3 separate regions of the Homo sapiens genome follow, and all the other regions are linked to region 1. Evidence: promoter capture Hi-C in 16 types of primary human blood cells and fetal thymus (Javierre and others, 2016). All regions are on one chromosome and are shown on one strand. The core of a region is centred on a gene start or on the middle of the fragment in contact, and the rest is flanking DNA. Distances in the headings are between cores, read along the strand shown.

Region 1 (2,700 bases), core at 19-2,518:
GTAGAAACGGGGCCTTGCTATATTGCCCAGGCTGGTCTTGAATTCCTGGACTCAAGTGATTCTCTTGCCTTGGCCTCCGGAGTCGCTGGGATTATAGGCGTGAGCCACTGCGCCTGGCCCTATCACTATGGTAACTTTACATTTATCTGAATTCCTTTTTTTTTAGACGGAGTCTCACTCTGTTACCTAGGCTGGAGTGCAGAGGTGCAGTGTCGGCTCACTGTGCAACCTCCGCCTCCGGGTTCAAGCGATTCTCCTGCCTCAGCCTCCCAAGTAGCTGGGATTACAGGCACGCGCCACCACGCCTGGCTAATTTTTTTTTTTTGTATTAGTAGAGACGGGGTGTCACCACGTTGGCCAGGCTGGTCTCGAACTCCTGACCGCAAGTGATCCGCCCGCCTCAGCCTCCCAAAGTGCTAGGATTACAGGCGTGAGCCACCGCGCCCGGCCATTATTTGTATTGTTTTTTGTTTGTTTTGTTTTGTTTTGTTTTGTTTTGAGAGTCTCGTTCTGTCGCCCAGGCTGGAGTGCAGTGGCGCGATCTCGGCTCACAGCAACCTCCGCCTCCCGGGTTCAAGCGATTCTCCTGCCTCAGCCACCGCGCCCGGCCCATTATCTGGATTCTTTAGTACCTGTTCCTCTAGACTCTACGCTCCATTAAAGCAGGAACTCCATCTGTTGCAACACCTAGCACAGCGTCCGGCACACTGCAGTTCTTCAATAAATACTTGCTGCATGAAGCCCTCTCTTCACCACCACCCCCACCCCTCCTCCTCGCAAAAAAAAAAAAAAAAAAAAAATGCCCCAGGGAAGGGTCCCTATCTACTCTGTCCACCACTGCCCAGGGCCCATCAGTGGGCCCAATGGCTATTTGGCGAGTAAATAAATGGGGTCAGGAGAAACGAAGGGGAAAGGATGTGTCAGAGGCCAGGACTGCCCCCTAAGATGGAGGAGGCCTAACTCTGGGAGCTTCCGCCTCTCCGAACGAGCGTCGCCAAGAGAAACCCCCTCAGAAGCGAAAAGGGCCAGGAAAAGAGGTCAGCCCCGGCCAGGCAAAGACATCACCTAAGCTCCCCAGCAGCCCCGTGTCTCTCCGCCTTTTCCTTCTCCCTTCCCGTCATGGGAAAGACTCCCGCCCGTGTCGTCACCTACACACACGAAAGAGACACAGGGAGAGAGGCTTCCATTCACGGTCACTCACAGGCGCAGCGGTTTCTGTGCCATCTGTCCGAATAGTATGGGTTGCGACTGCCACCTAAAATTGGGAATGCGAATCCGCGCTCCCCGGAAAAATGCGACCGCGCAACAATCAGACGTCAGCGCCCTCCAGCCAATAACGGTTCACTTACTTACGGAGACCGCCGAGGGACAGAAGCCTCTCTCAGGTGTTTGCGCCTCAAGGAAGAATCAAGAGGGAAAGGGAGGAACGAAGGGAGAAAGAGAAAGTGACCGAAAGGATTCCAACTATGATTTTTTAAATTAAATTTCAGAGCACTTGAAGCGAATGAATGGCTAGGAAGTACAGAGCACAATGTCGGGTTCTAACCTAACCTAACCTAACCTAACCTAACCTAACCATATCGGTCTAGTGGGCAAGACAGACCCCCTCTATCCACGTTTTTTGTAAGTTTTTAACCTATCAAAAAGTTAAGAGGCCGGGCGTGGACGCTCACGCCTATAATCCCAGCACTTTGGAAGGCTGAGGCGGGCGGATCACTTGAGGTCGGGCGTTCAAGACCAGCCTGGGCAACATGGTGAAACCCCGTCTCTTCTAAAAATACAAAAATTAGCCGGGCATGGTGGAGAATTGCTTCAACCAGGGAGGCGGGGGTTGCAGTGAGTCAAGATCGCGCCATTGCACTCCAGCCTGGACAACAAGAGCGAAACTCCGTCTCAAATTAAAAAAAAAAAAGTTAAAAGAATAATGGCTATTACCTTGATTCAGTAAGTCTCAGCATGTTGGCAAATTTGCTTGTGTTCTCTTTCTCTCAAAGTGCCCAAGCCCTTCCATTCTCACTCAATCATTTGAAAGTAAAGTACAGGCCGGGCGCAGTGGCTCACGCCTGTAATCCCAGCACTTTGGGAGATCCAGACCATCCTGGCTAACACGGTGAAACCCCCTCTCTACTAAAAATACAAAAAATTAGCCGGGCGTGGTGGCACGCACCTGCAGTCCCAGTTACTCGGGAGGCTGAGGCAGGGGAATCGCTTGAACCCAGGAGGAGGAAGTTGCAGTGAGCCGAGATCGCGCCACTTCACTCCAGCCTGGGCGACAGAGCGAGACTCCGTGTCAAAAAATAAAATAAAATAAAGTGCGGACAACAGGAATACATCTCCATTTATCTCCTAAGATTAGGATATCCTCCTACATAACCGTAATACTATTAACACAGCTAAGAAAATTAACATTAATTATTCAATAATATTACCTAATATACATCCATATTTAAAGTTCTCCATATTTCCCTACAAACTGATTTTATATTTGGGGCTTGTTTTGATTCAGATGCAATCAAGTTTCACACTTGCATTTGGTTCTGTCTCTATTTTAATCTACAAAAGCCCTCCTACCTATTTGGTTTTAGTTTTTGTAATATTGACTTTTTTGAAGGGTTCAGGCCAAGTGGTAGGAAACAAGTGTGTAAGGAAATGGAAACAAGAGAGAGTTCCTGACGACTGCGGGGAAAGGAAGACTCATCA
Region 2 (2,700 bases), core at 10-2,509, 270 kb after region 1:
CTGAATCAGTTAAGATAAACTAGGCTTCAAGCCAGAGCTCGGGCTAGAAACAACAGAGGCTTATTTCTCACTTACTACATGTTGATCATGGGTAATGTCATATTGTTCTTTACATCATCTTACTTGCTCTGGCACCCAGATTGCCCCAGCAGCTACTATCTAGAACTTTGGAGTTGCTGTGGCAGAAGGAAAGAGATGTGGTAGTGGTAACTTGTTCTTAAATTACAGTTGGAAACAACACAAGTCGCTTCTGTGGACATTTCCTTGGCCAGAGCAGCGTAAATAAGCAAGCCTGGCTTCAAGGGGATGTGAAAGAAAACTCGCACACTGAGGGAACCAGCTCTTGGTGAACAGTAATACAATTTACCACAGTGGTCATCAAGGGCCAACGGAGATGTCTCAGGCTCTGCGAGTCTCTGGAGTGAGACTGATTCATCATTCTAGGGTCTGTGGATAGGCTTCTAGGAGTCTGAAATTGTGTGAAAGTTCTGGGTGTATGTGCATTTTTATGGGGAACCTCCGTGGATTCTTTTATTTATTTATTTATGTATTTATATTTTTTGAGATGGTGTCTTGCTCTTGTCACCCAGGCTGGAGTGCAATGGCACGATCTCAGCTCACTGCAACCTCTGCCTCCCAGGTTCAAGTGATTCTCCTGCCTCAGCCTCCTGAGTAGCTGGGACTTCTTCTCCAGGTTCTTTTTTTTTTTTTTAATTTTATTTTTCATCTCACCCTCCTACTCTTTGGATTCTTAAAGGAGTCATTCTGTGACCCAAAAAAGGTTAAGCATCACTTCTTTAAAGAAAAAGTTTGGGGGCCAGATGCAGTGTCTCACACCTGTAATCCCAGCACTTTGGGAGGCAGAAGCAGGAGGATTGCTTGAGCCCAAGAGTTTAAGACCAACCTGGACAACATATTGAGACCTTGTTTCTTTAAACAAAACAAAGAAAAACCAGTAAATTAAAAAATTTGGTGTTGAACATAACTCAATGAAGGATAAGTAAGAATTCAGTTGTATGAGAATCCATGTTGGCTAAAATTTGCCTGACTACATCTGTTCTCTGTGGGAGATGCTGGTATGGATTTGGGCTTGGATTTTCAGATGTGGAGAGGCCATGCCAGGGGCTGTGTGTGCATGCACTAATAGGATTTTCTTCTTGGGGAACATAGGTTGTATCTGCAGCAAACGCTCAATGACACTGTGGGCAGGAAGATTGTCATGGACTTCTTAGGTTTTAACTGGAACTGGATTAATAAGCAACAGGGAAAGCGTGGCTGGGGGCAGCTTACCTCTAACCTGCTGCTCATTGGCATGGAAGGTAAGAAATCTTTCAAAAGCAGCATGGCTTGGAGTCATATGAACCTGATTTCTAATCCTGTCTTCACCGCTTATTAGCTCCATGACTTTGAACAAGCCACTTCACTTTCTTAAGCCTCAGCCTACTCAGCTCTAAAAGAAACATAATAGGGGCTGGATGCCGTGGCTCACGCCTGTAATCCCAGCAGTTTGGGAGGCCAAGGTGGGTGGATGATGAGGTCAGGAGATGGAGACCATCCCGGCCAACATCATGAAACCCCGTCTCTACTAAAATACAAAGAAAACAAATCAGCTGGGCATGGTGGTGCGTGCCTGTAGTCCCAGCTACTCGGGAGGCTGAGAGAGGGGAATTGCTTGAACCCAGGCGGTGGAGGTTGCAGTGAGCCAAGATCACGCCACTGCACTCCAGCCTGGCGACAGAGCAAGACTCTGTCTCAAAAGAAAGAAAAAGAAACATAATAGGGCCAGGCATGGTAGCTCATATTTGTAATCCCAGCACTTTGGGAGGCCAAGGCAGGAGGATTGCTTGAAGCCAGAAGTTTGAGGCTACAGTGAACTATGATTGCACCACTGCACTGCAGCCTGGGCAACAGAGTGAGATCCTATTGCTTAAAAAAGGAAAAATGAAAAGAAATGAAACATGATAATGTCTTGTAAATAGTTGTGAAGTTGTGAAGATTAAATGAAATAATGTATGTCGAGTCTGTTTTTTTTTGTTGTTGTTGTTTTGTTTTTTTGAGACAGAGTCTCACTCTGTTGCCTAGGCTGGAGTGCAGTTGTGTGGTCTCGGCTCACTGCAACCTCCGCCTCCCGTGTTCAAGTGATTCTCCTGCTTTAGCTCCCAAGTAGCTGACACTACAGGCGTGTGCCACCATACCCGGCTTATGTCGAGTCTTTAAGCTAGTTTCGTGTATTCTAAAAAGTTCCCTTTTCCCTTCCTCAGCTGTTATGTGAGTGTGTATACTGAGATATTAGGGACCTCTCTGAAATACAGACATGTGATGCTTAATGTCAGGGATACGTTCTGAGAAATGTGTTGTTAGGTGACTTCATCATTGTGCAAACACCATAGAGTATAGTTACACAAACCTAGATTGTGTAGCCTTCTATATGCCTAGGCTATATGGTGTAGCCTCTGACTAAACCATGTACTACATGGTGTTAGCATATTACTGTGCTGAATATTATAGTCAATTCTAACACAATGGTAAGTATTTGTGTATCTAAACATACCTAAATATAGAAAAGGTATAGTAAAAGTACGGTATCAGATACTGCAGGAAAAAGGTGACAAAAGAAAAAAGTATATAAAGGTTAAAAAATGGTAGTTTGGGAATTTTTTTATTGCCAAAAAAAAAAAAGATAAAAAACGGTATACCTGT
Region 3 (2,700 bases), core at 201-2,700, 420 kb before region 1:
GTGGCTGCCTGTATCTGACCACTAGGTGGCAGCAACACAACAGAAGTCAAGTACAGCAGACGATTCTTTAGCGTTGCTATAGCCCATCACGGTTTGCAAGACTTTTGCAATCAGCATTAGCAGTTTTGCCGCTGAAGCTTGAAGCCATTAAGCTTTATACTCCCCATTTGCTATGGTTAAAAGATAGAGGAGGGAATTTGCTGCAGGTTTCTGCCAGCAAGCGGAACGCTTCGTGCATCAGCAAGAAAGATTTCCCTTCGGCTTCCTCTCTGGATCCTGCCAGATAAGGACTGCCGCGAGGCCTCTCCGTTCCCCGCAGCGGCTCCTCAGGAGAACCTTTCCTCCTCCGCCCACTGCAGCCCAGTTCCTCTGGGGGTAGTTTTGGTCTGTCTGGTGTTTGCTCAGTTCGATAGTCTTTTCTCCAGCCTCTTCAAAAGCGTGACACCTTCTTCTCATGCAGCTGTACTATTCTTTCCTCTACCCTCCTCTGATCCCTCTACCTTGAAATCACGATTATGGGTTTGGGAGGCCGAGGCAGGTGAATCACTGGAGCCCAGGAGTTCAAGATCAGCCTAGGCAACATGGCAAGAACCCATCTCTACAAAAAATTTAAAAAATCAGCCAGGCATCGTGGTGCGTGCCTCTGGTCCCAGCTACTCGGGAGGCTGAGGTGGAAGCATCACTTGAGCTAAGGATGTCAAGGCTGCAGTGAGCGGTGTTTGTGCCACTGCACTCCAGTCTGGGCAACAGAGTGAAAGCCTCAAAAACAAAAAATAAACCGAGGACTTCTAACCCTGTGCCTAGCCCCTGGCTGGTAGCCACTCCGAGCCTTAGGAGGGAAAACCTTGCGGAAGCTCAACCACAAACCAGCTTCCTGCCTCAGGAATCCATCTCAGGCCAGTCCTATCCACCATCTCCCAGTCCTGAGGAACTCCGAGGTCCTTTTCTGGCATGAGCCCCAACAGCCCCCTTGTCCTTTCACTTGCAGGACCCCATCCTGTTCTCTGGAAGCCTGAGGATGAATCTCGACCCTTTCAACAACTACTCAGATGAGGAGATTTGGAAGGCCTTGGAGCTGGCTCACCTCAAGTCTTTTGTGGCCAGCCTGCAACTTGGGTTATCCCACGAAGTGACAGAGGCTGGTGGCAACCTGAGGTAATGTTCCATAGCCTGCTACCCCTGCAGGCAATGAGAGGATGTGAGGGGGCCACTCCTCGTGTTCCTCGTGTTAGGTGATGCCTGGCATAGAATTTTCATCCAGGTCTGATTCCTAAAGTGTAAAATGAACCTGTTGTAAAGTTCACAAGATAAAATAGATGTGAAAGTGCTTTAAAACTCTTGAAAACTGGTCGAGCACAGTGGCTCACGCCTGTGATCCCAGCACTCTGGGAGGCTGAGGCAGGTAGATCACCTGAGGTCAGGAGTTCGTGACCAGCCTGGTCAACATGGTGAAACCCTGTCTCTACTAAAAATACAAAAAGTAGCCTAGCATGGTTGTGGGCACCTGTAGTCCCAAGCTACTCAGGAGGCTGAGGCAGGAGAATCGCTTAAACCCAGGAGGTGGAGGTTGCAGTGAGCCGAGATTGCACCACTGCACTCCAGCCTGGGCAACAGAGCAAGACTCCGTCTAAAAAAAAAAAATCAACTCTTGAAAACCTTTGTTATTGGCCGGGTGCAGTGGCTCACGCCTGTAATCCCAGCACTTTGGGAGGCTGAGGCCGGTGGATCACGAGGTCAGGAGTTCAAGACCAGCCTGGCCAAGATGGTGAAACCCCGTCTCACTAAAAATACAAAAAATTAACTGGGTGTGGTGGCAGGCGCCTGTAATCTCAGCTACTCAGGAGGCTGAGGCAGAGAATTGCTTGAACCCGGGAGGCGGAGGTTGTAGTGAGCTGAGATCACACCACTGCACTCCAGCCTGGGAGACAGAGCAAGACTCCATCTCAAAACAAACAAACAAACAAACAAAAAACCTTTGTTATTAAGTGTACTCCTCATATGACATTACACAATGTGAGCTTACACATCCCACAGAAAGCAGAGGCTCCCAGCTGTGCACAATCAGGATGAAAATAGTCTGGCTGCCTGGTCCAATCCTAGAGTCTGATTTAATTGTTTGAGGCTAGACTGGACATAGGGAGTTTTAAAGGATCCCCACGAGGCTGTTAAGGGCATCGCAGTTAAAGAACCACTGATCTAAAGAGCATGCGGATGACAGGGAACGTGACATCTGTAAAATCCGTAGGCACTGTTGAAACACCTGAAATCAACAAAAGACTCTCTTGGCTTTCACAGTTATTTTTAACCTTTCCAAAACATTTTTATATAATTGACAGTTCACTTCTGGCCTTCAGTGTATGTTTGCCTGTCCATTAATAAGTTGATCTGGCATTTTTCCTGTAACATTTTTGTTTTTCCTTCCACACACTGAAGTTCTGCCCTCAGCCAAAGCCCACTGCTCATGGACAGGTCTTGCTCCTGCCCCAGGGGCCTCAGTGGTGGTAGGCAGGGAATAGGCCGTTGGCAAGTTGAAGCTCAGGAAGGAAGGGAGGGCTCAGTAACTGATTCAGGGGCCAGCCACTCTGGCTTCACCTGGGAGCTTGTTACATGTGCAGAATCTCAGGGCGTAGACCTACTCATCAGAATCCGCACTTTAGCAAGATTCCCAGGTGATTTGTGTGCACATTACACTTGAGAAGC

Evidence for each region. The method cuts DNA at HindIII sites, captures the fragments that hold promoters and counts their contacts. A CHiCAGO score of 5 or more calls a contact.
Region 2: a contact is called between a fragment that was not itself captured here and the fragment with the promoter of CWF19L1 in region 1, in 5 of 17 cell types (naive CD8 T cells, total CD8 T cells, naive CD4 T cells and 2 more). The highest score is 8.8, in naive CD8 T cells.
Region 3: a contact is called between a fragment that was not itself captured here and the fragment with the promoter of CWF19L1 in region 1, in 1 of 17 cell types (fetal thymus). The highest score is 5.2, in fetal thymus.

Annotation. Positions count from the first base shown.
Region 1 is chr10:100,266,370-100,269,069 of GRCh38, forward strand. It overlaps CWF19L1 (CWF19 like cell cycle control factor 1), which reads right to left and starts at 1,269. Exons shown (of 14, transcript NM_018294.6): 1 at 1,202-1,269. The coding sequence starts at 1,224. The HindIII fragment of the contact is 22,053 bases long and covers 1-2,700 here.
Region 2 is chr10:100,539,464-100,542,163 of GRCh38, forward strand. HIF1AN (hypoxia inducible factor 1 subunit alpha inhibitor) reads left to right here. Exons shown (of 8, transcript NM_017902.3): 3 at 1,171-1,319. Among named protein-coding and RNA genes, the nearest start is that of HIF1AN, 4.9 kb to the left of the region's middle. The HindIII fragment of the contact is 8,099 bases long and covers 1-2,700 here.
Region 3 is chr10:99,845,973-99,848,672 of GRCh38, forward strand. ABCC2 (ATP binding cassette subfamily C member 2) reads left to right here. Exons shown (of 32, transcript NM_000392.5): 30 at 989-1,155. Among named protein-coding and RNA genes, the nearest start is that of ABCC2, 65 kb to the left of the region's middle. The HindIII fragment of the contact is 2,601 bases long and covers 151-2,700 here.